Linked DNA regions of Homo sapiens: region 2 is linked to region 1. Evidence: promoter capture Hi-C in human tissues and cell types (Jung and others, 2019). All regions are on one chromosome and are shown on one strand. Each heading gives the region's core, a stretch centred on a gene start or on the middle of the fragment in contact. The rest is flanking DNA. Distances are from core to core; before and after follow the strand shown. Region 1 holds the start of SGIP1 (SH3GL interacting endocytic adaptor 1). Region 2 overlaps SGIP1 (SH3GL interacting endocytic adaptor 1).

Region 1 (5,473 bases), core at 2,573-5,072:
AGTTTTTGGTCTTGGACCAGTCATAAGTACCATATCAGAGCCTGGTATGATCTGGGTTGACATTCACATCCTGAGCTGAACTCCTGAGCAATTCTTGCACTTTGATGCAAGTCAGTTATTTACCCAATCTTTTCCATATACCATTTGACTTTCATTTCAGAATTGCAAAAAGTATTCCATGGTTTTGGAGGCTAGATATTCTCCTTTGCCCTTGCTGGCAAGCAAAAATTATACGATGAAGTGATAAAATTTGAACCACAACCTAAAGTATTGTCTTTGTTCTTGATCAAAACAATTTTTTTTTCAAAAACCTATGAGAGGCCAGGCATGGTGACCCACACCTGTAATCCCAGCACTTTGGGAGGCCGAGGCTAGTGGATCACTTGAGGTCGGGAGACCGAGACCAGCCTGGCCAACATGGTGAAACCCCTTTCTACTAAAAAAAAAAAAAAAAAATCAGGTGGACATGGTGGGGCATGACTGTAATCCCAGCTACTCAGTTGGCTGAGGCAGGAGAATAGCTTGAACCCAGGAGGTGGAGGCTGTAATGAGCCAAGATCTCACCACTGCACTACAGCCTGGGCAACAGAGTGAGACTGTCTCAAAAAAAAAAAAAAAAAAAAAAAAAAAGAAGAAGAAGAAAATAAAAAGAAAAAAACCTATGAGAAAACACCACAATTAGGATAATCTCTTTTGATTACATATTTGAGCAAATTTTATTGAAACAGAACTTCATTCATTGGATGTTCTATTGGATATGCTATTGGTAATAGCATCTTCTTTTTAAAGGATAAAATACACACAACTGATGAAGTTGCGGTGAAGTTTAGCCTTTGGGATTAGCTTTACCACCTTGAAATACACATCCCTTTCTGACAATATCTACAAACTTCTGCTTTTCCTATAAATAGTCATTGACCAAAAGAATCTTTCCATTGACTTGCTGTCTCTAGATAGTTGCTGCAAGTCTAAAAAAACTTGAAGTGTACCCATACCAAACCTATCTGAGAGGATTGCTCTAACACACTGTAAAACTTACATTGGGAGGAAGAAGGCAGGCAGCCTGGGTTTCTCCACCTTTCCCTTACATCCTAACAATGGCCCCCACTCCTGCACCTCAGTGCTTGCACTCACCTCCAGATTTTACATGATACTTTTTTCTTACTTACAACTCCCTATATTCTTTAGAACTACCACTTCAAGCCCATTCCAATTAAGTTCTGAACTCTGAAATTTCACCTCTGTAAAAAAAAAAAAAAAGTCTTTCCTAATTAACCTCATTAGATTTTGATTTCCTACTTAGCAGCCTTTCAGAAATCTCCAACATGTTACATCTTTGGATGCATCACCTGGTCTTTCACTAACTTGTTCTCTGTGCATTTGGTACAACTCCCAGTTGGCTGCAAACTTCTTTGATGCATCTGCCAGCCCTTTGGTAGTAATAATACTAATACTAAAAAGCTAACATGCAGGTCTTATTATGCTCCAGACAAAATGCTAAGTAATTTACTAGCAGAGTATTTGAATACTGTCTGGCACATAGTAAGCCATTAATACAGGTTTGTTATTATTACCATTTATAGCTCAATTAACTTGGCATTATTATTCTCTCCATTTCAGGATAAGAAAACTGTGAGGCACAGAGAATTACATAAATTGCTCAGAGTCACAGAGCTCATTATGTGGCACAAACAAAACTTGGTGCCCATCTATTTGACACGAATACCCATCAATGTTCTTAATCATTACAAAACATTTGCTAAACACACACACACATGCACACACACACACACAAATCAATCCTTTTTGCAATAATACCCCTCCAGTTTTCAGAGCAGTGTAAGTTGTACTCAAGGCAGGTTTTACTTAGGAATTCATTCCCCTTTTAAAATTTAACTGTCTTAGAGACATAAGAAAAAAGTCACAAGTATTTGTATCTCCCTGAAGAATTTCATTTTAAAATTTAGAGGCCACTGAAGTATGTGTCCTTAGGGAGAACAATGGGTTTTTCAAAACTTCTAAATTGCTAAGGAGCTGTGTTTTGCTTTTCAACTATTAATATGCTACTTCAGTCAGTCACCAGTACGTCATATTTGCTTTGGTAGAAAGAGCTAGGCCATGTCCAGGGCTGAGCAATAGAAAAAGTTCATGAGTATATTGCTAATAGAAATGATTAATAATACATTACAGGCTCAACCCTGATCATACCATGCATCTTCTTCCAGTTATTTTGAGTACATTTTCATTGGATGCTCACAATTGCTCTCTATTGTAACAGCTTTTCTCCTGGTCATACTGTGAGATTATACAGGGAGAAATGCCCACTTCTGATGTTGTTTTTCCTGAGTTCTAAAGAAGGCGTTCCCTTTCCTCCCATCTCCTTTCCTTTTTCTCTGCCTTCTCTCTCTCATAGGCTGCCCTGCCCTTTTCTTCCTTCGCTGTCTGAGCTTTCTTGAAGGGAACCAAGGGTCGTAGATCCCCCAGGGCTGGGCCCTTCTGAAAGGCTCCATGGTCTCTGGAGAGCAGTCAGGTGACAGACTGAACCCAACCGGGCCCAGTGACACAACTTCCCACTTAGGCAACTACACAGCCCCCAGATCCCATTCCTGGCAGCTTCAAAACCCTGGGCTCCGCCACAACCAGGCACAACTGCCTCCCTCCAGGTTTCCACTTGGGTGAATGAATAGGCTTGAAGGCGACTCCAGATGCAGGAGGCGCGTCGCGGAGAAACGTGTCATTTAGGAGAAAGTTTGTTTCCTACAGAGACTGCAGTTGGCAGCTGCAGCCCCAGTCGGTTGCGAGAAAAGCTCCCCACCTGGGGAAGCGAGGCCGCTCCCGTGTGCGCTCGGCGGGGAGGACGCGGTGGCGGCGGGACTCGAACTCGGTCGTCGAAGGGCGCCCCGCAGGGTCCCGTCTGTAGCCCGGACGGCGAGCCCAGGTTGGAGTGGGAGGGAGCCGGCGTGCACAGCTGTCTTTGGTCGGGCTCAGGCTTCCGCTCCCTGCCTGCTCCCCTTTCCAGCCTCCCGCCCCAGAAACGATCTCGAGCGTTGCCAGTTTGATTCCAGAGCCCCACTCGGGTGGGTTCTTTTGTTTCTTTGTTTTAATGACAGTTCCCAGCCCTTCAGCATGTCATGCGCAATTAATTCCCTGGCTCTCACGAAGGCAGCTGGGGTGAAATTTCTTCTGCATCATCCTTTTGGGGATGTTTATGATGTGACGTCAGTCGGATTGATTTTTCTCTCTTGAATGAAGGATGGGAGGGGAGAAAGAGAGACGGAGAGAGAGAGAGACGCACAGATGTGCACGGAGGCCACAGACACTGACATTTGGAATTCCTTCAGGGTAAAAGGACACCGGAATGGGAGCTTAGAAGTGTGTTGCTAAGATTTCCGGCTGCACGGAATTATTAAGTTTTTCTTAAAAAAACAAAAAAAGAAAGAAAGAAAGAAAAAGAAAAGAACCCCCTCCGCAGCGAGCCACTTAGGTGCTGCTTTCACGCCAGAGTCCCCTGTTAAGGTGGCAGCCCTTGATAACTAATCTCGGGCACCCAGCCGCTTCTGTAAGCTTAAGGAGACGACGAGGAGGGGCGGGGGAAGTGCGTCACCAGGTGGGGAAGGGGCTGTGTATTTGGTGACAAGCGGGAGGCGATGGGGGTGGAGGGGAATGGGGACGGGAAATAGGTTCTGTGTGCTCTCCGGGGGTATTGTGTCAGGAGATGCAGGCTGGCTACCATGTGACGCGGTCCAAAGCTGAAGGGATTGGCCGAGGCAGCGCAGGCGGTGCAGCTCGGCCAGCTTGCCGTTCCTCTCCCTTTCTCTCAGCATCTTCTTGGTAGCCTGCCTGTAGGTGAAGAAGCACCAGCAGCATCCATGGCCTGTCTTTTGGCTTAACACTTATCTCCTTTGGCTTTGACAGCGGACGGAATAGACCTCAGCAGCGGCGTGGTGAGGACTTAGCTGGGACCTGGAATCGTATCCTCCTGTGTTTTTTCAGACTCCTTGGAAATTAAGGAATGCAATTCTGCCACCATGATGGAAGGTAGGATGCTTTCTGCTATGGTTGACTGGCTTCAGGCAAGGTTTGGGCAGAACAGCATTAAAGAATATGTGCAGCCAGTGTATGTGGCGGTTCTAGAACCTGGTTGCCAATGTTTTGCAAGCAGAAATGCTGCAGTTTGCTTGCAGTGGATCTGGGCTCAGACTAATGGAATCAAACCACAGGGCTGCTGCCTAGCTCAGAACCTACAGAGCTCCCAGCTCCTTTGAGAGAGAAAAGCCTAAAGTGTTTGCAGGGAGCTGAGATGGAGCTAGGAAAGAGCTTGCAGAGCAAATAAGTTGGGCGAGAAGATAAGGTTTTCTGTTCTGGGTTCCTGGGACTACACTGATTAAACATTTACAATGGAAACTTGTTTTCTGAAATTGACATTAGACAGGAGAGGTCATTAACAGAGTTATCCATACAGACATTTTCAGTGAACTGTTTAAAATTGTAAAAATTCTCATAAGGTATTTTTATCTCTGCAGTTTACATCATATTATTGGGATGGGGAGGGCAGCAAATTTGGTCCATAAACTGTAGTTGTATGAGAATGTCATTGCAACAGAATGAAAAATATAAGGAAAATATCCGGGCCTCTTGCCTCCTGATTCGGGGTCTTATCAGGTTAAAAAAGAATTTTGTGCTCCCTAAATGCTTTCCCTGTCCAATGGATTTTAGCCAAGTATCAAATGATTATTTGCTGATGATCTTTTCGCATATTCAATATTGAGTGTAAGGAGGAACTTTCCCTGGAGAGATGCTATTTAAACTATATTTTATTCTGCTAAATTACCCTTCCCAGTCTGACACTGTGACAGCCAAGATTGTCTCCAAAAAGCAGCAAGCTGATCAGGAAAGAAGCAAGCAGCTCTATGCAGGCTTTGATTTTCTGTTTTCACACTATAGGATGGTGCAAAACTCCTGGCCTTTCCTAAGATGACAGGCAGAAATTTGTCCCCAGCCTGGATTTCACAATGCAGAATTGAGTGCATAATGGGTCTCAAATCAGCCATGAAAATGGCAGAGAGGCCACCTCTTAAGCCAAGGTTTGTCCTACGGATTTTAACTATTCCTTAGAAATTTACCAAAATGGAATAAGAGGAGGAAGGTTTCATAAAAACAGCAGTGTAGCCTGTACTTATTTGGCAGAAATGAATTCTTTTTGCTCTCCCTGTCATCATGTCAAACATTGTTAATGTGATTTGGGGGAGTGAAGAATTCTAGAGTCAAAACCCACAGATTTTAGAAGATAGCCTTAAAAGAGAGGTTGGGTATGATTTTGTTATGGAGCTGAGTCTTGTTTGCAAAAGGCTCTCAAGCTAGCCCTTTAAATCCAGGCCTAAATAAATTGAGATTGCTAACACTCTCAGATTAAATCATTTTCATTAATTCAAAATTGATTTAATCTTTGAATAACAAGGCAAGACAGAGTGTT
Region 2 (5,622 bases), core at 1,837-4,336, 50 kb after region 1:
TTCTTAGTGGTCAAAAACTCAAAATCTCACTCTATTGAAACACTCTAAGACATGAGAGTATATAATTAAACTTCACTGTTTTAGACCAATAAACCCAGTCTGTTTAAATTGCCAATTGGTTCATTTAAGGCAGCATAGTACAGTGGTTTAAGAGTCCAAACTCTGCATTCAGACTGTATATTTTTAAATTCTAGCTTGAAAAATTACTAGTTATGCAAACTCAGGCAAGTTCTCAACCTTTCTTTTCTTGTATGTAAATAGGGGTAATAATATCCCTAGCTCATGGTGTTAATGAAAGTATTTATGATGTAACCATAAAACCCATAGAATAGTGCCTTATAAATAGTAGGAGCTCAATCTTAGCTATTGTTACTGTTATTATAAAATATAGTTTTTATTACATTTAATTGTATATAATAACTCTTAACAAGGTTATTTCCTAATACGCTCTGCCAATCTTGACTCAAAGAATAAATAAGAATTATTTATGATTAAATCCATCTCTATAAAAATAATTCATGTGTTGAGGTTCATACCTTCTCTTAAGTTTAAAATGCTTTGCCTGTCGCATCCTCAGCTCAGCTCAAGATGAGTTATTGTACATGATTCATGAGAAAACTCCAAATTAAGTTTTATTTTGTACTCCCTGCTGAAGACTGAAGAGTGATTACCTTCGTAATACATGGCATCAAATGTGAGTTAGGTCTTGATTTATTTAACAATTCACCACTAAAAAAGAAGACTGGATACTTTCACCAAATTTTACTTCAACAAATGAAGACAAAGGACACTAATTAGGATTTGCTTCACAAATTGTTACTGTTTATTTTCTTTTAAGAAGCTAAGGTGGTACTTTGGCATCAGGAAAATTATACAAAAAGAAAAGGAGAGGCATTGAACTATATCTCTGAGACAAAGATGATGGATTCTAAGTATCTTACCTCACAAAAAGAAGGGACTGCCTAGTTAGTGGTGATAACAGGATCAGTCAGAATCCATGTCTTCCACAGTCTACTCAATGCACTTTCCATTCTGCCATGCTTTTAGAGCTGGGAAAGAGGTTGGTTGTGGGTTATCTGGAAATTTGGGAAAAGGTCATCTTGATTTTAAAAGGGCTCATAAATTCTGAATGAGACTAAGTGGACTAGAATAGTAATGGGATAGATAATGTAAAACATTATTTGTATAACATTGCCTCTGAAAATGAAAACCTTTGCTCAGAAGTATTTGTTCTCAGAGGAAGTGGCCAGATGAACTGGTGAATGAAGGTAGAAGAACCTTACTGTCAGCATCCCTACCAGGGATACTTTGTATGAAAACAGGTCAGGTCTTAGCACCACAAATATGAATGGAGAGTCATTGCTCTCTGGATGATCTGAGGAAAGCCATTTTGATTAAGTTTTTGATTAAGTGAGAGGAAAATACACTTCAGTGGCTGAAGATGATTTTTTTTTTTTGTAAAGGGCTTTGCCAATTTATGTCAGTGGAAAAGGAGTTAACAGTTTCCAGTCAAAGATGTAGGAAGTAATTAGAGTCATCAGTGCATGAAATAAACATCATAATTATATTAGAAATAATTGATAATTGATTCATAAATATCTGAATTACACATGGCTTTTTTTAGATGCTGCCTAAAAACTATTTATCAATGAGAATGTGAGACAAATATGCCTATAAGTATATCAAAGTATATGGTTCTTCAGAAAGATGATCCACCTTGAACAATTTAGGATTTTGTTAAGATAAATTAGCCCCAGATTCTCATTCTTAAATCCTTAGATCTTTGTTTAACAGAGGGGCAACAAGATGCTGTATGCTAGGAAAAAAAAAAAGAAGCAACATAATCTACAGGCATATGTTGCTTTTAAAGCAAACTCAACTTAAATTTGGATTTGTACAAAAATTAGATGATTTTATTTCACACATATTTATAACATTTTTATATATATCAAATCTCTGATGTGTTTGACATCAATTGATTGATAAATATCTGAATTACACATGGCTTTTTAGATACCACCTACAAAGTATTTCTCAAGGAGAAAGTGAGATATGTCTATGCTATATAAATAAAAAATTCAGCTGTAATAGTAAGTCAGAAAAGTTTACGTGGTTTTGATGAGACTGAAAGATGGAATTGTGCAAGAGATGAGCCATTAGCGCTTTTCCTAGTAGTAGGAAAGTTGGGATACATCTAAAATATTCTCAAAGTGTAGTCTATGTAATGTTTGCACTGGAAAATTTTAAAGTGCTTATTATAAATTCAGATTCACCCCATCCTACTGAGTCTTGGGGAGTAGGCCCCAATAACTGCATTGCACTTACTTCCTTAGTTTGCTCTTACGCACTTTCGTTCTTGTCAACTACTGGGATTAACTATTTGCTCAAAGGCTGGTTTCACCTTTGCAGAAATTCATGATCCTCATTTTTATTTTCATAAAAAAATACAAGTTCCTTAGTTCATAAACATTCAAGCACAATCCTTTAAGCCCAAATACCCTTTCATTAGGTAAACTTAAGAGGAAACTCTTTTGCAGCCTCAGCTGTGCTTCATTTTACATCCTTGGATAAGCCTTCCTATTCCCCATTTATTTCCCTCCTACATCCGAATTAGTAGTGTCCTTCTTCTGCATACTCCTTAGTCACTTCGTATTGCATTTGTTCACATAGCTTGCTCCTGTCTGCATCACTGATTATCAGCCCCATGAAGGGAGGAATGTTATTCATCTTTGATGCCGTCTCTCCTAGTACAGTAGTCAACACATAATACCTGCTCAATAAATTTTTGTTGCATGGCTTTAGCTTTGGTTCATAAAGGTTAATGTTTCATCTCTATGGTGAACTAAAAGTTGTACTTGGCTAAACTTGGGACATTTTTGCTGAAGAGTCTAGTTCCAACAGGAAGCCAGTGATTCCCAAGAAATGCATTTGAGGTAAATTAGTAAGTAGAATCCTTAGAGGCCTGTTTTGTTGGTGTTGTTGCTTTTATTTATCTTTGAAATGGTACCAGAGGCTTGTCTGATTAAAGTGAAATTGTTGGTTTGGTGTCTACTTCCAATTAGACTATAAGCTTCTTGAATTTATGAATTGTATCTCAATAATCTCCATATTTTCAATACCTATATCTAGTATAGGTGCTAAAAAGAAATAAAGTTTAAATTAAGCTGAATGTTAGTAAGCATCAGCCATAGCCCTTGAAGATAATAAATGCTTATCAGATGCTGTTTGGATTCTCCAATACCTAGATAAATAAATTTATGTTCCTCAAAGAGAAGCAAATCTCTGAATCTTTAAGTTGGAAAGGACTTCACAGGTTATCCATTCCATTGCCTAACAGTGCAAATATCTCTTCTGTAGCCCCTGTTAAAAATCCTCTAACCCATGTTAAAATTTCTCTAGCTCCAGGAAGCTCAGTAACACCAAATGCAAACAAGGACATTTAAACTGATCTAAATGTTCACAAGTTGGGTTTTTTCTTCTTTTTTCATGAACTAGAATCACTCAGGTCAATACTGTACTATGTTAGCTTCCTTAGCAGGTTGTAATTTTCAAGGATTCCCATATTGGTATACATCTAGGGATATCTGAAACTTGACAGTAATTTTAACAGGTTAATGCACTATGTTTAATTAACAGAGAACAGCTTTAAGATAGTGGTAGGTATATGAAGCAAGCAAAACCTTCTTCCCTGTAGCCAAATTTCTGTGCTCCTGGGTATTATTCAGCAAATATGATAGATGAACATGTGGGGATTTCTTTCCTGGTGCTTAGTGTTTTCCTGACACCAGTGCTGTGTTGACCTTTCTTCATGCCCTTCTCAAATGTTTCACACAACTATAGACTGGCAGCTAAGTATACCACCCTTCTCCCTCAAAACAAAAAGAAAGAACAAGCATTGTAAATTCTTACTCTTTCCCTTGAACTGAATTCAGGCAACATTTCTACCTGGAAGTCTTCCTTGAACTATGTTCCAGTCACATGTGTGTTTTCTTCCATTATCATAATTATTTCTTCCCTCTGGGTCTATCTCCTGCTCTGTGCCTTTACCTCTGGTCACAGGATGATTTTCTATCTTGGCTGGAGGCCTTTCCTTATTAATCATTTCACATGTGCCCTTCTCTATGGTGCTTCTTGCATTCTTAGCCATGTTCTAGTTTGTTTTGTTCTGTTTTATTGTTTTTGACAGTCCTCTATAATCTTACATTTGTTTTGTGCTGAACTCTACATTCCTGAGACTTTGATCCACTGTTTTTGTATCTGCCTTAAGTTTAATGTCTATTAGGCCTTCCCTCATGGAGTCTGAGACTTTACTTTTGTGCTGTGACATGTCAGAACGTTTCCTTCTGCATGGAATAGGTCTAGGATATCAAGTTATGCTAACTTTGGATCTGCAGATTTTAAAGTCCGTGAGAAAGCAGGGTGACTCTTTAAGCCCTCCCACTATGGGCAGTGCTATTTTGAGAAAAATTAAAAAGAGCTTTGGAGTTTGTGTGTGTGTGTGTGTGTGTGTTTTGTTTTGTTTTTGTTTTTTGTTATTTTACACCCAGCTAATTTTTGTGGTTTTTTGTTTTGTTTTGTTTTGTTTCAGTAGAAACAGGGTTTCGTCGTGTTGGCGAGGCTGGTCTTGAGCTCCTGACCTCAGGTGATCCACCCACCTTGGCCTCCCAAAGTGCTGAGATTACAAGCATGAGACACTGTGCCAGGCCAAGAGCTTTGGAGTTTTCTAAGGAATCCAGTGAATACCAAGTTCCATGCTTATGAAAGAGTATGTGTTAGAGAAATTCCAAGTTTAATACTGTCTCCAAGTGCTCTGCGAAAATAATTTAGTGATTTTCTGTCTAATTGATTTACCAATTCTTGAGAAAGAGGTCTTAAAGTCTCCAACTACAATTGTGGATTTGTCTTTTTCTTCTTTCCGTTCTATCAATTTTTGTTGCACATATTCTGCAGCTCTATTGTTTAGTGCCTAAACATTAAGAATTGCTAATGTCTCTTTTATCATTATATAATTTTGCTTTATGCCTTCAGCAATTTTTCTTGTTCTGATGTCTACATTATCTGATACTAAGTTAGTCCTTTTTTCCCATGATCAATGTCTTCATAATATATTTTCCCATGTTTTGCCTTCAATTTGCCTAGGTTATTATATTTGAAGTGAGTTTCTTGTACACATTATATAGATGGGTCATATTTTTAAATCCCCTTGACCAATCTTTATCTTTTAGTTGGTATATTTAGGACACTTACTTACACTTAATATAACTGATTAGAGTTTAACTATGGCAATTTTTGTTTCTTTTCTGTTTCCTCATTTCCGTTTTCTCTTTCCTGCCTTCCTGAAGGTTACTTGAACATGTTTTTTCAGAATTATATAATGTTTTTAAGTGTATCTCATTGCATAGAATTTCTAGTGGCTGCTCTAGATATTACATCATATTTACATAACTTATTACTGTATACCAATGTCTTCATTTTACCAATTTGAGTAAAGTATAAAACCTTACTTTCCTTTATGCCCTTTAATCCTTCCCAATTTGTGATACAATTGTTTTAAATATTTCCTCTATATGCTTTTAGCACCACATCAGAAAGTATTATAATTTTTGCATAAACAACCAAAAA

The links. Contacts are between HindIII fragments. The study calls those that stand out against the background at their distance.
Region 2: a contact is called between a fragment that was not itself captured here and the fragment with the promoter of SGIP1 in region 1, in 1 of the 25 tissues and cell types used here (hippocampus).

The regions. Positions count from the first base shown.
Region 1 is chr1:66,530,331-66,535,803 of GRCh38, forward strand. SGIP1 (SH3GL interacting endocytic adaptor 1) reads left to right here and starts at 3,823. Exons shown (of 25, transcript NM_032291.4): 1 at 3,823-4,038. The coding sequence starts at 4,029. The HindIII fragment of the contact is 7,701 bases long and covers 1-4,675 here.
Region 2 is chr1:66,581,084-66,586,705 of GRCh38, forward strand. All of the region lies in intron 1 of SGIP1 (SH3GL interacting endocytic adaptor 1), which reads left to right. Among named protein-coding and RNA genes, the nearest start is that of MIR3117, 45 kb to the right of the region's middle. The HindIII fragment of the contact is 8,908 bases long and covers 1-5,622 here.